Regions from separate parts of the Homo sapiens genome. Here region 2 is linked to region 1. Evidence: promoter capture Hi-C in 16 types of primary human blood cells and fetal thymus (Javierre and others, 2016). All regions are on one chromosome and are shown on one strand. The core of a region is centred on a gene start or on the middle of the fragment in contact, and the rest is flanking DNA. Distances in the headings are between cores, read along the strand shown.

Region 1 (5,155 bases), core at 1,091-3,590:
GGAAGGCAACTTTTCTCCTGCTTCCATGACAATGGAATGCAGGTAACTCCTATGGAGTCTGAGCTCACTTCTAACAGGGAAGATGAGTTTGTTTTTTGTTTTTTTCCTGCTTCTAGGATGGTAGAAAGCAGCCTTCGGCCTGAGACCCATCCCTAGATAGGTAACTGAATTGGGGTTTGTCTTGGATAAAGTTAAGATTAACAACCAGCTGGTCTTAATTTCTCCTTACCATTAGAGCGCTCAGTGATCATATTGTTGGTTTTTTTGTTGTTGTTGCTTTGTTCCAGTCTGAAGTTGTTGTTTAAGGATCCTAATTCTTGTTCAGAGATGCATTCTAAAGGGTCTTCTCTATTGCTTTTTCTCCCAAATTTAAACTTAATTCGGTTTGTCTGTGTGCATTTGCGTGAAGAAGTGAACTGTTGTTTTCATACGTTAATGACAGTTTTCTCAGCTCTGAAGAGAAAAGGCATTTACTCCTCCCAGCTGAAAGCGCCCCTAGGTGACTGGGGGCCTCATGGGAGTCTCTGGGGGGGTTAACCCCTTGCGACGTGCAGCGGCCCTGGAGGGAAATCCCCAACAAAAATTAATTTTAAAAATGGCTCATCCAGGAAACGCATATAAGGGCTGATCGCCCAGCCTTTTGAGCCTTTTCTGGGGTCATAAACCTCTGGAGAGAGAAACTGAGACATGTAAGAGGGTGGAAACGACTCAGCGATGACACACTGTAGCATCCTGCCCACAAGCAGCACATAGCAATCAAAAAACCTGGGCCACAGCTCAGTTCCTCCTATTAAGAGAGAAAAAAAAATTGGGAAACAATATAAGAATGAGGAGGAAACAAAGAGAATGACCCCCTTTCCAGCACTCCATAGGTTGTATGGCACATCTACTTGCCAAAGTTTATGTAAAATGGAAATAATATGGTCTTTGTGCACATTTACATTAAGGAAAAAGAGCCCTAAGATCGACCTGCAAATTATAGAGTTCCTAAGTGCTCTTTTTCTCGATTTTTTTCTTTTCTGCCTGCTCTAAATCTGCTGTTATTTTTCTATTAAGATAAAAACCACTGCATCCAACAAGTTCTTTTTGCAGGGTGGTGAATTTGTGTTTATCTCATGGCTAAAAGTTCTGAAGTAAAAGCTATAGGATATTTGTTTATGTGTGTGTCTATGTGTGTGTGTATATATATTTAAAAGGCCTTTATAATTTCTACGATTTTATGCTTAATTGGCAATTAAATCTGTTTTAATTTCCCTCTAGCACACCAAACGTTTTCTCTCCGACCTTATAATGTAAATTTTGCTATTTGACTTTCACCTAAGTTGTTTCCTTTAATATGCAAATTTAAGGCTATTTAGCTGAAAACTGCCCAGGGTTATGAAATAGGTCATCAAGAATCTGAAAGTCTAATATAGGGGAAAAAAAGGTTTTCATAAATCTGTAAAATGTAGTTCTAAAGCATGCCTAATATGTCTGTGTATTTATGTGTTGTGTACACAGTGTTTCACTACTAAAAATATATAAAAGAGTGCTAATTAATTGGCTTAAAACAATGAAAAGCGCTTAAATCATATACTACAAAAGACTAGTGAAATGCTCTTTCAAGTTTATGTAACTTAAGTAAAATCTTTAATAAATAAGCTTGCTTTAAAATTAATGGTAAGGTAATATTAGAAACATCTTAAGAATTGCCCGCCTACATTTTTCTTTGCATGTATTAATGAAGCAATTTCATACTCATCCCTGCCAAATATTATAAGGTGTCAAAATTTGGCATAGGGGTAACAAAACTATAAACGCAGCCCAAGACAGAATGATCTTGCTTGTGTAACCTTTAACAAATAAGATGTTGATATTGGTTTAATGAATGTAGTTATATCTTGAATTATTTAGTAAAATTACCATAACCTCTAATTTTGTGGCTTTAGGCAGTCTAATCCACAGATGGTAGGTAGGTTTGTTTTGGGAAAGGACTGTTACCATCTTTGTTTCAAAGCTAAACTATAAACTAAATTTCTCCCAAAGTCCAGGAATGAACAACGACAGCTTGGAGTTTAGAAGCAAGATGGAGTCAGTTAGGTCATATCTTCCTCACTGTCTCAGTTATAATTTTGCAATGGCAGTTTCATAACTTTATTTATTTTTTAATTTTATTTTTGGAGATGGCGTCTCACTCTGTCACCCAGGCTGGAGTGCAGTGGCACAATCTCGGCTCACTGCAACCTCTGCCTCCCTGGTTCAAGGGATTCTCTTGCCTCAGCCTCCCTAGTAGCTGGCATTACAGGCATCCGCCACCACACCCAGCTAATTTTTGTATTTTTAGGAGATATGGGGTTTCACCATGTTGGCCAGGCTGGTCTTGAACTCCTTACCTCCGGTGATCTGCCCACTTCGGCCTCCCAAAGTGCTGGATTACAGGCATGAGCCACCACGCCCAGCGGTTTCATAACTTTAAATCATGACTTTTGGGCCTGGGTGCAGTAGCTCACGCCTATAATCCCAGCACTTTGGGAGAATGAGGCAGGCAAATCACCTGAGGTCAAGAGTTCAAGACCAGCCTGACCACCATAGAGAAACCCCGTCTCTACCAAAAATACAAAATTAGCCAGCTGTGGTGGCATGTGCCTGTAATCCCAGCTACTGGAGATTACAGTAGATTACAGGTGCCTGGGCAACAAGAGCGAAATTACATCTCAAAAAAAAAAAAAAAATCATGACTTGTGGTTTTCATAATCTAGGTAAACCATTAAAATAAAAAAATTAGGTAAATGTAATGGGATAAATACTGGCAGACAAATTTGTCTTAATTTATAATATAAAGTTAAATTAATAGATATTTCATTATTTGGGTATTTTCCAATAAAATATATAATATAGGAAAACATTCTTGATTTTAAAAAGTGTGAACTTTCTTAAAAAAGGTGAAAAAGTTTTGTCTAATTCAAAGATTATTTTAAGGTTGTGAATAAAACAAGGTAAAAGAAACCAGGAAATAAAAAGAGATGTAAAGACAGAAAAAAAAAAGGTTTTTTATGGTAAGAAAGCTTAAAGAGAAATAATGTTATACGAGAAAGAATCTTGTATGGTGGCTGCGAGCAGTGGCTTATGCCTGTAATCCCAGCACTTTGGGTGGCCAAGGTGGGTGGATCACCTGAAGTAAAGAGTTCTGGACCAGCCTGACCAACATGGTGAAACCCCATCTCTACTAAAAATACAAAAATTAGCCAGGCATGGCAGCATGCGCTTGTAGTCCCAGCTACTCAGGAGGCTGAGACAGGATAATTGCTTGAATCCATGAGGTGGAGATTGCAGTGAGCCGAGATTTCACCACTGTACTCCAGCCTGGGCAACAGAGCAAGGCTCCATCTCAAAAAAAAAAAAAAAAAGCACTTACTAAAAAAAAAAAATATTGAATGGTAAATTTAGTCCTAAAATAAAATGACTAATTGTTTAAGAAGGAGGGATGTTCAGCTCAAGGCAACCTCTGCCTCCCGGGTTCAAGCGATTCTCCTGCCTCAGCCTCCTGAGTAGCTGGGATTACAGGCGCACGCCACCATACCCAGCTAATCTTTGTATTTTTAGTAGAGACGGGATTTCATGATGTTGGTTAGGCTGGTCTCGAACTCCTGACCTCAAGTGATCCACCTGCCTTGGGCTCCCAAAGTGCTGGGATTATAGGCATGAGCCACCACGACCAGCCCAAAAATTTTTTTAATTGAGGTTACTATATCCATGTGTCTTCTTGTGTGTACTTCTAAAGTCCTTGTGACCTTGAGTTACAGGGCTTTGACTCCTGGGTCAAAAAGGACACCAAGTCCTGCTAAATCTTAAACACTGACAGCAATTAAAGCCTCATCAGGCTCCATAGAAGATGCCGGTCAAAATAAACTGCATTTCTGAGACACAGGGCCAAAAATTAAAGCCGTTCAACTCCTTAAGGCCCAGGGACTATCATGGAAGAGGTGGGCACGTGAGATTCTAAGGGCTGATTTTGAAAGATAAAGTTCAATTTCTCTATATATTAATCACTAACGTCAAAGGCACTTGAATGTGCTGATGAAAGACTAGCACATGGGCCCCTGTGTCAGATTAAAAGAGACTCTCCTGCCTCTTGAAGCATTAACTGACTCCTTAAGAAAGGCTATAGGCTGGGTGCGGTAGCTCACGCCTGTAATCCCAGCACTTTGGGAGGCCGAGGCAGGCGGATCATGAGATCAGGAGATCAAGACCATCCTGGCTAACATGGTGAAAGCCCGTCTCTATTAAAAATACAAAAAATTAGCCGGGCGTAGTGGCGGGCGCCTGCAGTCCCCGCCACTCGGGAGGCTGAGGCAGAAGAATGGCATGAACCCAGGAGGTGGAGCTTGCAATGAGCCGAGATCGCGCCACTGCACTCCAGCCTGGGAGACAGAGCCAGACTCCGTCTCAAAAAAAAAAAAAAAAAGAAAGCCTATAAAGTTTATAAAAGGCTTATGGAAGCTCTATCTTACGGTCAACATTAAAATTTTCTAGATCACTTATAAAATTTTGAAAAACAAATTTAATTAGCTTATTGCTGTTTTTCTTAAGTCTTCTTGCTTGGAAAATTAAGTTGCCTCTCAAAGAATGAAGGTTTTAAAAAAAAAAAACATTGAGTTATCACTTTGGTTAAATGAATGACTTATTTGACAATGACCTGTGATCCTATTTTGTGATATCAAGTGTTTTAAACCTTTGATACTCAACAAGCTTTCTAAAATCAAATTGTAAATTAGGTCTTTTTCTGATGTAATTAATCCTTTGAGAGATTAGGTTCCCTAAAGTCCAAAAATGACATAATTTGGTTTATTTGGTATAAAAATGATACAGGTAGCATTGTCAAATATGAAATGGTGTCTCATTTTCTTTAGGCTGTATTTCTATAATTATGTTATTAATATGTGTTCCAATATTATGGGAAACTCCTATAATTCTGATATAACTTAGTGTACATTATCAGTAATAATTATAATTGTTATGTTAAATTATTGTATGCCACAGAGGTAAATTTCCTTGTCAATTTTGTCTTTGACTATGGCTGCCCTAAAACCTTTTGTCATCTACGAACAATTGTTGTCTTGTTTTGGTCCTCTTTGGAAGATGGTTCTATAGTCAGCTATGGAACTCTAACAGTTGT
Region 2 (5,155 bases), core at 918-3,417, 520 kb before region 1:
TATTAAAATTATTATTCATCTTTAAAATTAGAGGGAGGAGGGCAGATGGGTCTGGTCCTGAGCCCACTCACTTCCAAAAGTAGACAGAGAGCGATATCGTCACGTATTCGCCCGTCCCTCCGGGCCTGGGCCGCCAGGTTGGTGAACCAGACGCAGGGGACCCAGTACTTGTTGAAGTCGGATTTCAGGCTCTCAAACTTTTTCCTCTCTTCCTGGGACATGAAACCTGAGGGGGTAAAGCAGGTGGGGTGCAGTTGCACCCTCTGCCGCCAGGGGAGGCTGCTGTTCCGCCGTCTGGCTCCCCTCCCTCGCGTCCACCGGCTGTCCCAGGACTCGCGGTTCCGCGTTCCTGTCGCAGTCCAGACCCTTCCCTGGAGGCCCCTGCTCCCAGGACTCTCCCAGGCGCCACCTGCATCCGGCTGTGGGCCGGACCCCCAGAGGCTCCCGGCGGGCGGCGCACCTGCGTCCACCACGTGCTCCATGGTGGGGAAGCGCTTAAGCACGCGGGTGCTGACCGAGCGCAGCACCAGCACGGACGCCAGGTTCGCGTAGCGGATGAGGGTGCGGCGCAGCAGGCGGCCCCGCTGGTCCACGCCGTGCACGCTAGCCGAGATGACGCACATCAGCTGGTCTGGCAGCGGGATGCTTGTGTACTGGGACCACCAGCGGTTCACCACGAGAGTCACATAGAAACCTGCTTGGCCGCCGTGATAGAGGGAGTAGGAAGGGAGAGTGGAGAGCCTGGGGGTCGGAGCGCCTCACCTCCCCCAGCAAAGGGCCTGGTCCAGGCCAGTTGAATCGTGGCAGGGGGAAGGAAACATTCAGCTCCAGTGCCCTGCTGTGCGAGGCCAGGAGGAGGGAGGAGGGCAAACTTCCTTCAGCAGAGGGAAAGTGGGGATTCAAAGCCAGGAGACTGCTTCCCAGGAGGGTGGGGAAGGGGTTGTCACCTCTGTCCAGCTCCCCTGCAGTGCCCAGGGTGGGCTTGTGAGGCCAGCAGGTGTCTTGTGCCTTGCTGGAAGTGAGGGTCCGGCAAGTGATAGGGCCCTGCCCTCTGGAAGTCCTGGACCCAGCACCCAGCTCCTGTGCCTGCTGGGCCTGCTCTGGCTGACCAGGAAGGCTCTGCCACCGTGTTGAGTAATTCTTTTTTTTTTTTTTTTTTTTTTTAGCAGAGTCTCGCTACATTGCCCAGGCTGGACTGGAACTCCTGGGCTCAAGCGATCCTCTCACCTCAGCCTCTCGAGTAGCTGAGACTGCAGGTGTGTCACCACACCATCTGTTGGGTAATTCTGACCCTCGGAGCTGTCAACCCAACCCAGAGGTCAGGGAACACAGTAAGGGGGACACAGGGAAAACTAGAAGGGAGCCTTACCCAATACAAAGGACAAGGGAATGAGGTCTGCTGAGCGGTTGCAGTACCGGGCCACCTGAGCATACACGTACCTCTGCTCCTGGGTCAGCAGCAGCCTGGGGAAGGCAGGTGTAGGCTTGGGTTAGAGGGAGGTGGGTGGCCCAGTCTCCCCACTTGCGCCAGCTCTAAGACCCTGCCCTTACCGGTAGGTGATGCTAAGCACAGCGTACAAGGCCCCAAAGAGGAGGAATTCCTTGTAGAGGAGCTTGTAGATGCTTCCCCTCCAGCGGAGAAGCAGGCCAGAGAAACCTCCGAAGCGGGCCTCCGCCACTTTGAGAGTGTATGAAACCGTCATGGTGCTGGGAGCCTGGGGCAGGAGGTCACAAGAGTTGCCCCCAGGGCTGTCGTTTAGTTCTCCAGACAACCTCCCTTCCACTCTGGTCTCACACACCCCAGCCTTCACCCTGCGTCAGTGGACAAGGGGGTAGGAGCCTGCAGAGCAGAAAAGTACACCCCACCCCCTGCAGAACTGAGCAGTACATGGGCAAAGCCAGGCTAGAGTTGGACAAGGTAGAACTGAGATCTGTGTCCCTTCATGCATGAGGTTTCCTCAAGCTCCTCTTCAGCCTGCAGGGCTAGGGATAACCAGATCCTGAACTGCTGCGGACAAGAGACGCAGCTCCAGCCCAAATCCACTGCTATTCCTTGGGGCCTTGCTTTGGAAGCTGATTAACTAGAACTACCAGGGCCCAGGGCACTCTCACCCCCATCCCATACCTGCCTACCTGCTCTGGGCAGCAGCCCGTGTGGAAGATGAACTGGGCTAGACTTCAACCCCCACAGACTTAAGTACCTCTGCAGTCCATAAAGTTAGGCTGGACTGAGGCCTATCATTGATGGATTGAAGCTGTCATCCAGCTTCCCCTGGTGCTGGGAACTGGGTGTGTCTCCTTACCCCTGTAGGGTTGGGCTGGCCTTCGAGTGGCAGAAATGCCAGCTATACTGACCCCACAGCTCACACAGACGACACCATGTCCTTCAAGCCAGTATGACAGGGGTTATTGTCCCACGTTTCAGGTGGGAAGACAGATGCATGATAAACTGTTATAATAATACCAGCTGCTGATCACAGAGCACTGACTAAGTGACAGGAACCATGCCAAGGGCACTACTAGGTCATCCTCTCAAGAAATCCTCATCACAGCACCATGAGGTAGGGAATCAATCATCCACATTTCACAGATGAGGCTCCAAGAGGTAAATGACTTGCCCGCCGTCGGCCATACAGCTAGAACATGTTGGAGGCAGGATTCAAAGCCAGGGCTGATGGACTTCCAAGGCTGGAAGTGGCCTAGCAAAGGCATGAGCTCCAGGACCCATCCTGTGCACTGGCCACACTCCCAGTCTTCTTGTACAGGGGCTTGGGGGCTTGGCCAGGCTCTTCTCCATCCATGCCACGGGGCTGACAGCCACAGATCTGGAAGCTCAGGCCTAGGAGTGCAGGCTCCGTTAAGCCCTGTGTCCAACATCCTGACTCCTAGGGGTGCCCAAGATTTGAGTGGCCACTTTCACCTCTGGAGGAAGTAATACCTAAGGCGCTGATAGAAATAGAACTTCCGCTGCCAGGCAAGGTGGCTCACACCTGTAATCCTAGCACTTTGGGCAGCCTCAACGCAGGTGGATCACTTGAGGTCAGGAGTTCGAGACTAGCCTGGCCCAACATGGTGAAACCCTGTCTCTACTAAAAATACAAAAATTAGCCGGGTGTGGTGGCACGAACTTGTAATCCCAGCAGGTACATGGGAGGCTGAGGCAGGAGAATTGCTTGAACCTGGGGAGGCGCAGGTTGCAACGAGTTGAGATCGTGCCACTGCACTCTAGCCTGGGTAATCAAAAAAAAAAAAAAAAGAAAAGAAAGAAAGAAAAAGAAAAAGAAAAAGAAATAGAATCTCAATGGGAGAATCGCTTGAACCCGGGAGGGAGAGGTTGCAGTGAGCTGAGATTGTGCCACTGCACTTCAGCTTGGGTGACAGAGACTCTGTCTCAAAAAAAAAAAAAAAAAAAAAGGCCAGGCACTGTGACTCACGCCTGTAATCCCAGCACTTTGGGAGGCCGAGGCAGGCGGATCACCTGAGGTCGGGAGTTCGAGATCAGCCTGACCAACATGGAGAAACCCCATCTCTACTAAAAATACAAAATTAGCTGAGCATGGTGGCACATGCCTGTAATCCCAGCTACTCCGGAGGCTGAGACAGAAGAATCGCTTGAACCTGGGAGGTGGAGATTGCGGTGAGCCGAGATCATGCCATTGCACTCCAGCCTGGACAACAAGAGCAAAACTTTGTCTCAAAAAAGAAAAAGAAAAAGAAAAAAGAAAAGAAAAGAAATAGAACCTCAAAGTGGAAGAGAATTGGCAGCTTACTTACCCTCCCAGTGCTGAGGTAAGTGAACACTGAAAAATCCCAAGAGTGGTGGTCCTGCCTCTGTCTTGTTTTGGGAAGCTCCTCCCCCTACACTGTGAGCTGGTTCTCTTCTGCAAGTTTCCTAAAGATAGGAAGCATAGAGAGGTGATTAGGAGCACAGGCTTGGGAATTGGACAAACCTGGGTCTGAACCCCAGCTCTTTGTAACTGTGCAAGTTACCTAATCTCTCTGAACCTCAGTTTCCTCCTCTGCAAATCAGAATCAAGAACGCCTAACCTCATGGGGCAATTTTGAGTATTCACAGAAACAATGCCTATGGCCTAAAGCACTGTGGGTGGTTGGCTTGGGCTGCTGTTACTATGAAAATTTGAATCTGTTCTCTTTGGTTTCCCACGACTGGTCCAGTCTTGCCTACCAAGCCTTCCAAGCCAGACAGTCCCTGAGAAATGAGGAGGCAGAGACCTTTTCTTCATGTCCTGCTAACCTGCCCCAGACCAAACAGTGCTGGATCCTGGCTTTTAAGCTGAATACACAAGGCCCTCTGAGACTTACCCACCTCTACCCTCATCACCAGTCTCTGCCTAGCTCATATAAAATTTTTTTTTAATTTTAATTTTTGTGAGTGCATAGTAGGTGTATATGCCTAGCTCATTTGTAACTGTTCCTTCAAGATGTGGCTCAGAGCACCCTCTAGGAAGCCTTCCATGATCTTCCCCAGGTTACTCCTCAAAACCCTCTGGGTTTTCTCTCTTGCAGCAGTTAATCACAGTGGTCTATGATCTGTTTACAGGGAGATCTCCCCTCTAGCCTGTGAGACACCTGAGAACAGTTTTGAATCTGATTCATCTAGGTAAAGCTAGATTACAGTGGCTCATGCCTGTAATCCTGACACTTTGGGAGGCTGAGGTGGGAGGATCACTTAAGCCCAGGAGTTTGAGACCAGCCTGGGCGACATAGTGAGACCTGTCTCTACAAAAAATTTTTTTAAATTAGCTGGGTGTGGTGGTGTGTGCCTATAGTCCAGGTACTTGGGAGGCTGAGGTGGGAGGATCACTTGAGCCCAGGAGTTTGAGGCTGCAGTGAGCCATGATACAGCCATTGCACTCCAGCTTGGGTGACAGAGTGAGACCCTGTCTCAAAACAAAAACAAAAACAAAAAAAGAAAAAGAAAAAGCTGGGGAGGACTTGAAACCAAGCAAGCTTCTTTTTCTTTCTTTCTTCTCATCCTTCCCTCCTTCTTGCCTCCCTCCACCCCCTCTTTTGTTCTCCATTTCTCTCTTCCCTTTTAAGATGAAAGACATCTGGTCCCCCACCCCACCCCTGCTATTTTGTGAGATTTCCCAGATGAGCCAAGATCTGGAAAACTACTCATGGCCTGACTGGC

What was found. Contacts are between HindIII fragments. The CHiCAGO score rates a contact against its expected background, and 5 or more counts as called.
Region 2: a contact is called between the fragment with the promoter of BEST4 here and a fragment that was not itself captured in region 1, in 16 of 17 cell types (erythroblasts, megakaryocytes, monocytes and 13 more). The highest score is 17.6, in erythroblasts.

The regions. Positions count from the first base shown.
Region 1 is chr1:45,305,885-45,311,039 of GRCh38, forward strand. No RefSeq gene overlaps it. Among named protein-coding and RNA genes, the nearest start is that of LINC01144, 4.6 kb to the left of the region's middle. RefSeq lists an enhancer at 529-708. The HindIII fragment of the contact is 1,403 bases long and covers 1,640-3,042 here.
Region 2 is chr1:44,786,003-44,791,157 of GRCh38, forward strand. It overlaps BEST4 (bestrophin 4), which reads right to left and starts at 2,168. Exons shown (of 9, transcript NM_153274.3): 1 at 1,552-2,168; 2 at 1,370-1,464; 3 at 461-694; 4 at 72-226. The coding sequence starts at 1,703. RefSeq lists enhancers at 25-710, 620-709, 711-1,396 and a silencer at 370-499. The HindIII fragment of the contact is 5,761 bases long and covers 1-4,969 here.